Linked DNA regions of Homo sapiens: all the other regions are linked to region 2. The links are contacts of gene promoters, found by promoter capture Hi-C in blood cells and fetal thymus (Javierre and others, 2016). All regions are on one chromosome and are shown on one strand. The core of a region is centred on a gene start or on the middle of the fragment in contact, and the rest is flanking DNA. Distances in the headings are between cores, read along the strand shown. Region 1 overlaps LOC105371244 (a long non-coding RNA gene). Region 2 holds the start of CNEP1R1 (CTD nuclear envelope phosphatase 1 regulatory subunit 1). Region 3 overlaps NKD1 (NKD inhibitor of Wnt signaling pathway 1). Region 4 has its middle 6.3 kb from the start of NKD1.

Region 1 (3,290 bases), core at 340-2,839, 590 kb before region 2:
GTGATGTATCTAGGACACTAAGGCCTCATTGATACCGGCAATTGGTATTATGATCCAGGTTCCCCCAGATCTGACATTTCTAAAGCTGGCAGAGCCATCAGTCCAGAACTACCACAGTGCTCCTTGTCCCCTGCCCCTCAGTGTCACAGTCAACATCAGGAGTCAGGACAGAGGTGGGCGAGGGTCAGAGGGGTGCCTGGGAAACCGTATTTCAAGAAAGCTGAAGAAAGGGGATGATTTCAAGTTTTCAGCTTCTAGAGAACCTGGCCTGCTCCCCATCTGGCCTAGCCTTACTCTGGTACCCCAGGTTCTGGGCTTCCCATGGAACCAGCCTCAGGCTAAATCTACTGCAAAAATTCCAGAAGCCAGAAACAGAGAAGTGTTGGTGGTGGCAGGTGAGCCCACCAGCAACAGGGGACACCTACTGAAGAGGACAGTCCCAGCCACTAGGTACAAAACCGGACTGAAAGGGGTCCCAAAGCAAATGGAAAGAATCCAGGACCCACGTGCTTATTGTTTGTTAAAATCAAAGATAACATTCCAAGCCTTGTTAAGGTGAGGGCACACACTCTCTAGACTCGAGCAAAAGAGTTTCAAATACAGATGGGACAGAAAAGAGCATGAAACCCAGGGGAATCAATGATCCTGGGTTTTGGGGGAGCAGACATGTGCCTTGGGACATGGTGAGTGTGTGCACCTGTTCGTGCACACGTAGGTACCCGTGCATGCCCGGGGGAAGGAGGGGTTGCTGGAGAGTGTGTGCTGGAAGTGGCTGCAAAAGAAATAACTTTTTCCCAACACAACCTTGGAAGACAGTGCGAGCTTTATTTCAGGCAAATGGCTGTAGTCAAAGGGGTCCAGTTGAGACTTTTCACCCTTGGCCTTCTCCCTTGCTCTGTCTCTGTGTCTAGTTTTCTTCGCTCCTGTCTCTCTTTCTGTGCCCCAAGGTCTTTTATTCTCAGTTTCTTTCTGCTTGTCTCTGCCTGTCTCAATGTCTCCATCTTTCTCTGTCTCTGCTTCTCACTGTCTGTCCATCTGTGTGTGTCCCTGCCTCCTGTTTCTTTCTCTCTCTCCACACACACACTCCTTTGGGATTCCATTCCTCCGTTTCTCGGTCTCTCTCTCCCTCCACGTGTCTCCTCTCATCTCTCCCCCTAACAATCTTATATCTTCCTTCATCCCAGGAACTCCTTTTCTTTCAGCTCCATCAGCTGCTTCCTCTCCCTTTGTGCTAGGAGAGGTGCTGTCTTCCAAAGGAGCAGAATCCTGGGAGAAACAGGATTTCCAGGTCTGAATGCTTAATTTCATATTCCCGTCCAACAAGGGCAAAGATTCAAGCCACATTGTATCCTGGCTTATCACACATTCCCCACCAGCCCTGGTGAAATCACCCTCTTCTCCTCCCCAAACGGGTGCCTGGCTGTTCCTCCTGAGAAGGGGGTACATTGCAGGGCTCTTTTCAATGGTTTTGGTCCCCAGAAATTCCAGGCAGGATCCTCTGCCACTCTCCAGAGAGTGGGCCTGGGACTCGGGCAAGGTTCAGCTGGCTCGGATTTCCCGAGGTTCACATCTAGGCTCTTTATTTTGTTCTATTCCATCCCAAGAACAAGTGCTTGCTGGCTTCCAATTGTAACCAGTGATCACTGGTTACAACTTGTAAAAATGAAGACCTAAATAAAATGTGTACAAGTTCCTGGACAATTTAGTGAATGAATACACACACATAATTCTAAACAATGTGCAATATGAACTCATGTACTCTTTATAATGTATCCCCATTTTTCAGATGAGGAAATTGAGGCACAGAGAAGTTAGAAAACTTGCCAAGGTCACACAGCCGCACAGTGTATTTGAGCCCAGCCATCCACCCTGGGGCTCCGGCTCGGAAGTGCCGCCCTCTGCTGCCTTCCCGTGGCCTGCAATGCAGTCCTTCTGGTGAGCACAGTGCCCTCCTCACCTTGGTTCCTAGAACAACAAAGCCCTTCCCTCCCCAGAGCTTTGGGGCTGAGCTTCCTTCCCCCCACTTTTCTGCAGGTCTTGTTGCCTCTCATCCTTCAGGTCTCAGCCCAAATATCATGCTCAGGGACCCTCCCTGAGACCCCCCCAGGAAAAGAGCCCCTACCCCAAGTTCCCCAAGACATCACACTACTTATTTCCTTCAAAGTTTATCACCTTGGGATGTCCCCGCTAGTTTTTATCTGTTTTCTTGGTTACTGTCTTTTTCCTTTCCTGGAATGGAAGCTCACTATGGATAGAGACCGGATCTGTCTTGTTCCTAGCAATAACCACAACAGAACAGAATCCAAGCTGCAGAAAGGTCTAGTAAACTAGTAAATGCAAGTAAATGGAGCTGGCACAGCTCAGAGGAGTGAGGTGGCCAGGGATGTTTCAGGAGGAAAGGATGGTGAGCAGAGGCATAGAGGTACAAAAACATGATGTGGGACAGGCACAGTGGCTCACACCTATAATCCCAGCACTCTGGGAGGCCGAGGCTGGTGGATCACTTCAGGTCAGGAGTTTGAAACCAGCCTGGCCCACATGGTGAAACCCCGTCTCTACTAAAAATACAAAAATTAGCCAGGTGTGGTGACAGTTGCCTTTAACCCCAGCTACTGGGGGGCTGAGGCAGGAGAATCACTTGAGTCCAGGAGGGGAGGTTGCAATGAGCCGAGATCGCACCACTGCACTCCAGCCTGGGTGACAGAGAGAGACTCTGTCTCAAAAACAAACAAAAAAATGTCATATGTACCAAGGCGTGCAGTCCGTCTGTGCCACACACTTTCAGGGGTTGTGTTGGCAGGAAAGATCCATCAGCTCCGATCCTGTATTTGAGGATGCAGATGAGCTTGAATTGTGGGCCTTGAATGCCAGGCTTAGGAGTCTGGGGTTTACCAGCAGGCAATGAGGAGCCAGTGAGGGAACTAGAGAAGCGCCGTCTGCTCTGGTTTTGGGAGCTTGACCCAGCAGGGTGGTGGGGCAAGGAGAGGCTGCAGCAAGGAGATCCCGTAGGACCTAGAGGAGGACTCTTCCTGGCAGGAAAGATCCAGGATCTTGGGGGAGAGGCAGTGGTGGGGGAGCAGAACTGAGAGGGAAAGAGCCTCCCGTCGCCTGAAATTGCCCAGATGTATTTTCTAAAAATCAGAGCAGGTCGGGATCTTTGTTTTCTCTTTTCCCCCTGCCCACTTCAGGGCGATGAGGAGTAGATTGTGTTTCCAAACACATCAGAAGAATCTGCAGTGGAAGTTGGAAGAATAACCCCAGGCTTCTTGGTCTAATTCTCAAGGTCAACT
Region 2 (3,098 bases), core at 135-2,634:
TACTGAAATCAGTCTCTTGTCTAATGAAAGCAGGAGTTATGGCTTGTGGAACAAAGGGATCAGTTAGTCAGTGACTGGTACTTGGTAAGCTGCAATTGTTTTAATATTGCTTGTTTAGCTGCTAGAGGAAAAAAACGAACATTGTGGCAGTTAGAACATCGTTTATTCTTTAAGTGTCTGGGTCTTGAGTGATTTAACCCTTGCCTGGCAGGGCCTTAGGTCTTGTTTATAAGTTGGTATGTTACTGCCACAAAAAAATCTAGCCCATCAGTCTTAGATTCTTTTTTTTTTCTTTTTCTTTTTTGACAGTCTCACGCTGTCACCCAGGCTGGAGTGCAGTGGCTCACTGCAACCTCCGTCTCCTGGGTTCAAGTGACTCTCGTGCCTCAGCCTCCCAAAGAGCTGGGATTACAGGCATGCACCACCACGTCTGGATAATTTTTTTGTATTTTCAGTAGAAACAGGGTTTTGTCATGTTGCCCAGGCTGGTCTCAACTCCTGACCTCAAGTGATCCACGCGCCTCAGCCTCCCAGAGTGTTGGGATTAACAGGCGTGAGCCACCGCGCCCGGCCAGGATCTCTATTTTAACACAACTATTCTTATTTGAAATCAATTACTTATTTGCATGTTTGTTGCCTGCTGTAGCCCTTCCTCTTTGCGGGCAGGAATCCTGTCTACCTGGCTCACACGCGTATCAATACAGTGTCTAGCATGTTAGGCAATAAAATGATTTTGAATGAAAGAATGCCACCAATAAATGAACAAGAAGGCCTTGTGATCAAATACAAATGTAGTCAATCCCTTACAGATCTCTTCTTAAGTTATAGGTATTTGGGCTTACACTTTGCCTCATTTAGGAATTATGAAAGCTGGGTGATGTGAGAGGAAAGTAACCAAGAGAGAAGTGTTTACTTAAGGGGTTGGTTATCTAGGATACCATAATTAAGGAAACTGGTTATTTAGGGTTCTAGTTAGTTCTGTACAGATTTCATTACTCCTTGAGATCCTTGAGGACAGAACCAGCTCTTTGATTTCTGTATCCCTCGCTAGCGACCAGAATAATGCCTGGAAGGTAGTGGGCGCTCAATCAACATTTGACGAATGAAAGAACCAAGCGGGGAACGGGGGATAAATGAATGAACGAACTGGCTCCGGAGGGCTGCAGTTCCTCCCCGGGGCAGCAGGCGACGCCAGCGTTACGCCCGCCTGGCCGCCGGCAGTTCTTGGTCCCTCCGGCTGACCGTCCAACGCTAGGCGCCGAGGCCGGTGCAAGAGACAGCCAATAGAAAGCTGTCTTAGTTGGAGGTCTAGTAGAGGAATCCAATGAGCGTAGCGGGTCTAGGCAAGGGGCGGTGCGACGGGGAGGGGCAGCGGGGAGCGGTTAGAGGTGGGAGTTGGCGCTGCGGGCCGGGCGGGGGCCGCGGAAGCTGCGATGCGGACAGGGCAGCGGCGGTGACCCGAGCTGCCGCCCGACATGAACTCGCTGGAGCAGGCGGAAGGTAGGGTGGGCCGCCCGGGCCCGTCCCCCGTCTCCCCTCGGAAGCTGGCGGTGCTCCGGAGGAGCCGGCGTCGTGAAGACCCCCGCCCCGGGAGGAGGCCGCAGAGGATGGAGCTAGGGGCCCGGAGCTTGGGGGCGCGTAGGCGGCCGTACCTGGCCAGACGCGGGGGGCGGTGCCTCAGCTCCCTGAGTCCCCACAAACCTAGAGGGTCGACCTCCTCGCCAGCTTCTATTTTTATTTTCTTTTCACTGGCAGACACTTGCACTTCGTGCATTGCAGCCTGCTAATTCATTTCATTTCATTCTCACAGCCCCGCGAGTTGTATCCCTGATTCCTGCGGTGGTTTCCGGTAACTGCCAAGGTTAGGAAGTGCTGCTCGGTGTTTTAAAGTTTAAAGCACACCACTGCGGAAAGGATACCCCACCACTCACTCGGAGCAGCTTAGACGCCCCTGTCTTCTAGAACTAGGCGCTGCCTGGGTGCCACGAAGATCACCTGTACCCCTTCGGAGGGGGCAAGGGGAATGTCTTTCCACACCCACTCGCTATCAGTGTCAAGAAGTCTAGTAAGGCCAGACGGCGTAGCCATTAATTAAATATAAGAGCTGGAAACCGGAGGCGGGTAATTGCAGTCAGGTAGACCTCGAAGACTTTGATGTTAGGCACTACGTGGTTCTAATAGGAAGTTCTTGGTTCCCAGAGAGCTAAAACTCGACCTGATTTTAATTTTATTTGCAACCCTGAAAATGTTCGCTTTTGGCGCTGGCCGAGGCTGCTGCTTATTTCTCCCAATACCATTTATGAAGCTTCTAAAAGTAAATCAGCAAGTTTTCTTATATGAGAAATTGGAATTAAAGAGCCCTAATTTTTTGTCAAGTGCTTAAAAAGCTGTCATAGTAAATGAAATAAACAGTGCAGTGATACATGGAAGTTAGTGTGTAAGACCTGAAGCAGTTAAGAGTATCTCACATGTCGTCTTAATGTTAGGTAAATACTCTGACATTTCGTCAGACGAGTAAGAGTGGCTAATTAGAAAATTGACATCTTTATACCTAGATCTCAAGGCTTTTGAGAGGAGACTTACTGAATATATTCATTGTTTGCAACCTGCTACTGGACGCTGGAGAAGTAAGTTCCTGAATGTTATTTTAAGGGAAAACTAACAATTGATACTTTTATCCTAATATAGGAATGATTTGCTTTTATGTAAAATGTTTGTTTAAATTTATTTAACATTGTAGACAATGCCTTATGAAGAAATTTTTAAGAAAAGGAAATTATAACTGGCCTTCTCAAAAGAACAGTCTATTTCGTGTGGTTGTTTTTGTTTTTCCATTAAAAAACATATTTTTTGGCCAGGCGCCGTAGCTCACGCCTGTAATCCCAGCACTTTAGGAAGCCCAGGCAGGCGGATCACCTAAGGTCAGAAGTTCAAGACTAGCGTGGCCAACACGGTGAAACGCCGTCTCTACTAAAAATACGAAATTAGCCGGTCGTGGTGACGCTGCCTGTGATCCCAGCTACTCAGGAGGCTGAGGTGGGAGAATCGCTTGAACCCGGGAGGCGGGGATTGCAGTGAGCCGAGATTGCGCCATTGCA
Region 3 (3,198 bases), core at 184-2,683, 530 kb after region 2:
AAGGGTAAGTAAAGATGTGGGCTGGGATGGGAGGCCGAGGTTGGTGGAGGCCGAGGTTGGTGGATCACCTGAGGTCAGGAGTTTGAGACCAGCCTGGCCAACATGACGAAACCCCGTCTCTGCTAAAAATACAAAAAAAAAAAAAAAAAGAAAGAAAAGAAAGAAAAAAAAAATAGCCGGGCATGGTGGCAGGCACCTGTAATCCCAGCTACTTGGGAGGCTGAAGCAGGAGAATTCCTTGAACCCGGGAGATGGAGGTTGCAGTGAGCCAAGATCGTGCCATTGCACTCCAGCCTGGGTGACAAGAGTGAAACTCTGTCTCAAACAAACAAACAAACAAACAAACAACAAAACAAAGATGTGGGCTGGGAGACTTTATGCTGAAGACCAGCATGTGCCCATAGAAGGTGCCAGAGGTGTGCTTAGAACTTGCAGAATCAGACTTCCTGGGTCTGAGTCCCAGCTGCACTTCTCCCCAGCTCGGTGGCCTTGGGCCAAGTGATGGCTCATCTCTGATTCTCAGTTTTCACATCTGTGGAATGGGTAGAGTAATGGTTCCTACCTCATTGGGTTGTTTTAAGGGTAGAAATGGGTTCATTTCAGCAAGTTAAAGAATAAAGGAGATGTCACCCCTTCTTTTGCAGCTTGCCAGTGTTGTTTGCTAGTGATCACCTGGATGTGTGCTCAGTGTGGTACCAGTGTGCTAAGTGCAGTGAAGGAAAAGGATGGGGAAGGAGAATAACGGAGGATTCTACTTCAGATTAGGGAGTGATGCGTAAGTCGTTAAGACCCAAAGAATAAATAGGAAATAGCTAGGTGGGGAAAGGTTTATTAAAAATATTCCAGGCAGAAGGCACGGGATGTGCAAAGGGCAAGAGGCATGCAGGGTTGGTGCACAGAGAAAGTGTTCAGCCTCCTTCTCGGTGTCTGACTTGGAACCACATTCCAGTCTCTGAGGTGTTAGAGCAGAACTATGTGGTGCAGCAGCAGGGAGTGGGCAGTGCCTGCTGGGCTGGGTGGTACCACTGTATGTTGCATCCCGTCATGAGGCCTTGTCTCCTTGCCGCAAGTCTTCCATGAAGTGTTACTGGTGTCTGTGGACTCCAGCTTTCTGGTCAGGTTGGAAGAGGTAGGGAGGAGAACCTCTCAGTCACAAGAAATAGTGTCACCCTGGAGCGGATTGGCTGGCCTGCTGGGCTGCCCAAGCCTTCTGGCCTTGAGCATAGAGCTGGGGTCCTGAGGAGGGGAGAGGCAGAGCATAAAAGGACCCTGTTAGCAGGATGGGGCTGTCTTCCCTCAGGCCACAGCCTCCCTAATGGGCTCAGGCCGGAGGATGTTTTTCTAACTTCAGAAGGCTGCGTGGGCTGGTGGGCCCCTCACTCAGAGGCCTCGGCTTGCGGTGGCTCCAGTGAGTGGGTTTGGGGGTGCTGGTGTGTGGTGCCATGCCCATTCCATGCCTGGTTTCCAGAGGGAGCCTTGTTCCAGGACAGTTTTTGACCCTGACTTTGTTGTTTTACCCTTCTTTCCCCCTTCAAAGGCAAAAAGATGATTGAAGAGAACTACTATAATCCAGGAACAAAGTTGCCTTTTCAGCGGGCACTGGGGACTTTCTCTGCTTCCTCCCTGCCCTGGAAAGTCCAAAGGCACCCACTGCCTCAGCTGGTCCTGGGCACGTGCCTGCTTTCTCAGTGGCTGCAGGCTCAGTGTGCCCGCGAGCTGCCCACTGTGTGCATAGCCCCGTGCTGAGTCTGGGAGCTGCAGCCCGAGGAGGAGGTGGTAACAGCGTAGCTGCTGCTTGCTGCGTGTCTGCTGTGTGCCAGGCTCTGGGCCAAGCACTGTTCATAGTGCTGGATTCTCAGAGCACTGTTATGAGGCCGCTGTTATTATTATGCCCATCTTACCCATAGGGAAACTGAGGCTTTAAAGAAGTCAACCATATTGCCCAAGGTCACTTAACTTGGAAGTGGAATCTTGCTTCAGCAAGATTCAAATTCAGATCACTCAGTGTGATTTTAGAGCCATCTTAAATCAGTTTAGGCGAGTTTTTTTTTTTTTTTCAACTGTATGTCTCAGCCCCATTCATGGTTCATGACATCAATTTAGTGACCAAAATGAAATAGAGTAAAAATATGAGAAAACATTATATATAGTAAGAGTAAATATTGTTTTGTGTAATTTTTTGTTCTAGTTAAAAAAAATGTATACACACACTTTACACACACCTATACCCAAACCCATCTATCTATCTATCTATCTATCTATCTATCTATCTATCTACAGCAGAGGCATATTGTAAAATATAATTCTTACTATAGGTCATAATCAGAGTATTAGAAAAACGCTGGTGTGGGTCACTGGTGCAGGCCCTGAGCCTGAATGCCTGGTTTTGAGCCCTGGCTCTACTTCTCACTAGCAGTGTGACCTAGGGCAACTTTCCTGACCTCTCTGTGCTTTCTGAGCTGTTTGGTTTGTTGACTTTTGGGCCTGGGTCAGTGCTCCCAGGGATGCTGTGGGTGCTTGCTGCTGGCTCACTCCCTTTGCTTAGGGAATGAAGAGGATGAGCAGTCCCATGGAGGGGGGGCCCATGGCTTCTCCCCTGAGAAGCCAACAGCAGCAGCTTCATCCCAGGAGAAACACAGACATGGCTCAGTCATCAGGGGTTGGACACAATGCTGCGCTGGGAACCCTGAGCCTGGGGGTGCCTCCAGCTTAGCTATGAGGTATCTATTATGACCTCTCCTGCCTTCTGCTTCCTCCTCTCAAAAATGCATTAAAGGAAAGGAGAAGGCTTTGTTTCTACTGCTGTAAAAAAAAAAAAAAAGTCCAAAGATTAGTGACTTGATCACTTTGTGACTTGCTTAAGAGTATGCACTTTGGACCAAGCCTGGGAGGGTCAACTTGTCTGTGGCTCCATGTAGCACAGTTAGGGTGGCTCTAACAGCAAGGGTCTGACTGCAGCAGCTCCAAATAAGTGACATGTCTGGGGCTTCAGTTCTCTTCTAGTTGGCCTCACCTCATGAGTAGCTTGGGCTTCCTCACAGTATGGCAGTCTCAGGGTAATCAGATTTACATGGTGGCTGTCTTTCCCAAGAGTATAGAAGCAAAAACGGCCAGGACTCTTTAAGGTTTAGGCCTGGAATTAGCAACAACACATTCTCTTCATTAAAGCAAGTCACAGGTCCAGCCTAGATTTAGGGG
Region 4 (2,963 bases), core at 302-2,801, 520 kb after region 2:
CTTCCTCATTGCAGTTCATGGCAGCTCCATCCTTGGAGTTGCTTAGGCCCCGCATCTTGGCGGCTTCCTTAGTTTCTCTGTTTCTCTCCCACTCCACGTCCAATACATTTGCTAATGCTGTTGCCTCTAATTTCAAAATACATTCAGCGTCCAACTTCTTTTACCTCCTCCACTGCCATCACCTGGTCTAAGTCGCCATCATCTCAGGCCTGGCGCCCCACCATAGCCCTGTGACCCACACTTATTCTCAACACAGCAGCCCAGTTGCTCTGGTTACTACTCTCTCTTTTTTTGAGACAGGGTCTCACTCTGTTGCCCAGGCTTGAGTGCAGTGGTGCAGTCTCAGCTCACTGCAACCTCTGCCTCCTGGGCTCCAGCAATCCTCCCACCTCAGCCTCCCTAGTAGCTTGGAATACAGACATGCATCACCATACCTGGCTACTTTTTAAAATTATTTTTTGTGGAGACAGGATTTTGTCATGTTACCCAGGCTGGCCTCAATCTTCTGGTTGCAAGGGATCAACCCACCTCAGCTTCCCAAAGTGCTGGGATTACAGGCATGAGCCACCATGCCCAGCCACAACTCTCTTCTAGTAACTCCTGTCTTTCTCCAGGAAAGCTGAAGTTTTTGATGAGACCTATAAGGGTCTCATGATCTGTCCCCGTCACCTCCAACCTCATCTTCTCCCCAATACTCCCAAACTGTGGTCTCTCTGCTCCAGAGCCGGGGGCCTCTTTGCTGTTTCCAAAACATTCCTGGCATATCCTTACCTCAGGCCCTTTGCACATGCTGTTCCCTCTGTTTCTTCCTCATTTTCAAGTCTTTGCACAAAGCTTATCCTCTCTGACCTGTCTATCTAAAATCATTAGCTCCTGCCCTGGTATTTTTTCTTTCTCTTTATCACTTGAATTTTTTCTCCCATAGACACACCACATATTTCACTGACTTATGTATTTATTGTCTGTCTTCCTCTATGAGAATATAAACTTCATGAGGATGGCATTTTTGTCTGTTTTGTGGACACAAGAGCCTGATGTAAATTAGGCGCCCAACAAATCTTCACTGAATGACATGATAAATAAAAGAGAAGCACCCACCTTTATTTCTTGGTTGCCTCCTCCCTGACTTTGGCCTCTCCATCTCCTCCCCAGCATGGCTGCTTATGCGAGGCAAGGGCAAGCTATGTAACCTTGGTTGCTTCTGAGAAGGCTTAACTTTCTAGAGCCTCCAACTGTGTGTGGTCTATACACCAGCACCATCAGCCTCACCTGGGAGCTGGTGAGAAATGACTCTCAGGCTCCACTCACACTGCATCTCAACAAGATCCCGGTGAATTCATATGCACATTAAATTCCAGGGAGCCCTCCTCTAGGCTATTTGACCCTAGCTCAAGAAAGGGGGATTAAGAGTCTTACAGGGAGGGATCCAAGGTCAGCATATACAGTTAGTCAGGGACCAGTCTGTCTGTGTCTCTCTCTCCATGGGGTTTACTATCATTGCTTTCCCCTAATGGTTCTTACTCCTGCTTCTTCCTGCTTATTTTTCAGCCCACAGCGACCCCAAGAAGCTGCTCCAACCCCTGGGACTATGGAGCTCTACAGCTGTAGAGACCACCAGGAAGTGGACTGCAGGCCCCTGGCCTCTCCATTCAGATTCTGCAAAGAGATCCTGATGGGTTGGGCCAATGGGTCAGGCATCCAGTCAGCTCTGGCTAAGGGGTGAAGGAGTCAGGTGTTACCAACGTGGTGGCAGGGGCCACCTTGAAGCTGTGTTCTGTGCCATGGAAGAAGGAAGAGGAGGAGGAAGCTAAGCTGGAAGGGAAGGCAGGTGATACAGGAAAATTAACTATGAGCTTTGCTATAGTGACCACTTTTCCTTCACTCCTTGAGCTGTGGCCTTAAGAACTGTGTACCAATGGGAGGCACTTGCATAGTAAGTGTTCATTTGCTGAATACTTACAGAGGGCTATAAGTGGACAAATATGTCCAAAAACACATGAAACACACACCATCAACACTTGCAGATGGTCTCCTTCAGGGAACCTTTCCACACTGGCTCTCCCCTCACTGAGCTTTCCTTCCTATCACCCTCCCAGTCTAGGCTCCTGGAGTCAGTAGTTGGAATCTCAGATGGGAAGAAACCTTAAAAGTCATCTGGTCCAGTATTTTCCAAAGCATGTTCCATGAACTTGTTTTCCAGAAATGGTTTCCTGGTCTGGTGAGTTTAAGAAACCCTGCTTATGACGATGCTCTCCATTTAGAGAATCACAAAGCTTGGCTACTCAATGAAAGCTCTGACAAGTCCTGCAGGAAAAAACTTGTCTTCTTTTGGCTAAGCTAGGGCTGCCCAAAGTTTCTCATGGAGTCCTTTCTTGCACATAATAATAGCATCTCACAAACCAGTGGTCGGGGGAACCCATTACGGGAAATGCTAATCTTCTGGACCCTTCCTTCTATTTTATAGGTGGAGAGGCTGTGTGGTGGTCTGGTTGGCTGCATGTAACTGAAAAACAAAGGCTTAAAAAGATAGGGGCTTCTTTTGCTCTTTTGTTAACAAAGTCTGGGAATAGTCAAAGACTGGTACTGTGACTAGAAAGGCTTCTGATATGGTTTGGCTCTGTGTTCCCACCCAAATCTCACCTTGAGTTGTAATGATCCCCATATGTCAAGGGCAGGATCAGGTGGAGGTAATTGAATCATGAGGGCAGTTAATCCCATGCTGTTCTTGTGATAGTGAGTTCTCACAGGATCTGATGGTTTTATAAGGGGCTTTTCCCCTTTGCTCGGCACCTCTCTCTCCTGCTGCTATGTGAAGAGGGACGTGTTTGCTTCTCCTTCTGTCATGATTGTAAGTTTCCTGAGGCCTCCCCAGCCATGTAGAACTGTGAGTCAATTAAACCTCTTTCCTTTATAAATTGCCCAGTTCCGGTATGTTCTTGTAGCAGCCTGAGAACGGACTAATA

The links. The method cuts DNA at HindIII sites, captures the fragments that hold promoters and counts their contacts. A CHiCAGO score of 5 or more calls a contact.
Region 1: a fragment that was not itself captured here is called in contact with the fragment with the promoter of CNEP1R1 in region 2 in 1 of 17 cell types (fetal thymus); the score reaches 5.1 in fetal thymus.
Region 3: a fragment that was not itself captured here is called in contact with the fragment with the promoter of CNEP1R1 in region 2 in 4 of 17 cell types (total CD8 T cells, naive CD8 T cells, monocytes and 1 more); the score reaches 8.2 in total CD8 T cells.
Region 4: a fragment that was not itself captured here is called in contact with the fragment with the promoter of CNEP1R1 in region 2 in 2 of 17 cell types (total CD8 T cells and activated CD4 T cells); the score reaches 6.2 in total CD8 T cells.

Annotation. Positions count from the first base shown.
Region 1 is chr16:49,435,652-49,438,941 of GRCh38, forward strand. All of the region lies in intron 2 of LOC105371244 (a long non-coding RNA gene), which reads right to left. Among named protein-coding and RNA genes, the nearest start is that of LINC02179, 29 kb to the right of the region's middle. The HindIII fragment of the contact is 4,036 bases long and covers 1-3,290 here.
Region 2 is chr16:50,023,841-50,026,938 of GRCh38, forward strand. CNEP1R1 (CTD nuclear envelope phosphatase 1 regulatory subunit 1) reads left to right here and starts at 1,385. Exons shown (of 6, transcript NM_001281789.2): 1 at 1,385-1,500; 2 at 2,556-2,627. The coding sequence starts at 1,476. RefSeq lists an enhancer at 1,074-1,575 and a silencer at 1,389-1,698. The HindIII fragment of the contact is 11,127 bases long and covers 1-2,303 here.
Region 3 is chr16:50,558,588-50,561,785 of GRCh38, forward strand. The region is part of intron 3 of NKD1 (NKD inhibitor of Wnt signaling pathway 1); the gene reads left to right. Among named protein-coding and RNA genes, the nearest start is that of NKD1, 12 kb to the left of the region's middle. The HindIII fragment of the contact is 5,014 bases long and covers 1-3,198 here.
Region 4 is chr16:50,540,610-50,543,572 of GRCh38, forward strand. No RefSeq gene overlaps it. Among named protein-coding and RNA genes, the nearest start is that of NKD1, 6.3 kb to the right of the region's middle. The HindIII fragment of the contact is 1,439 bases long and covers 833-2,271 here.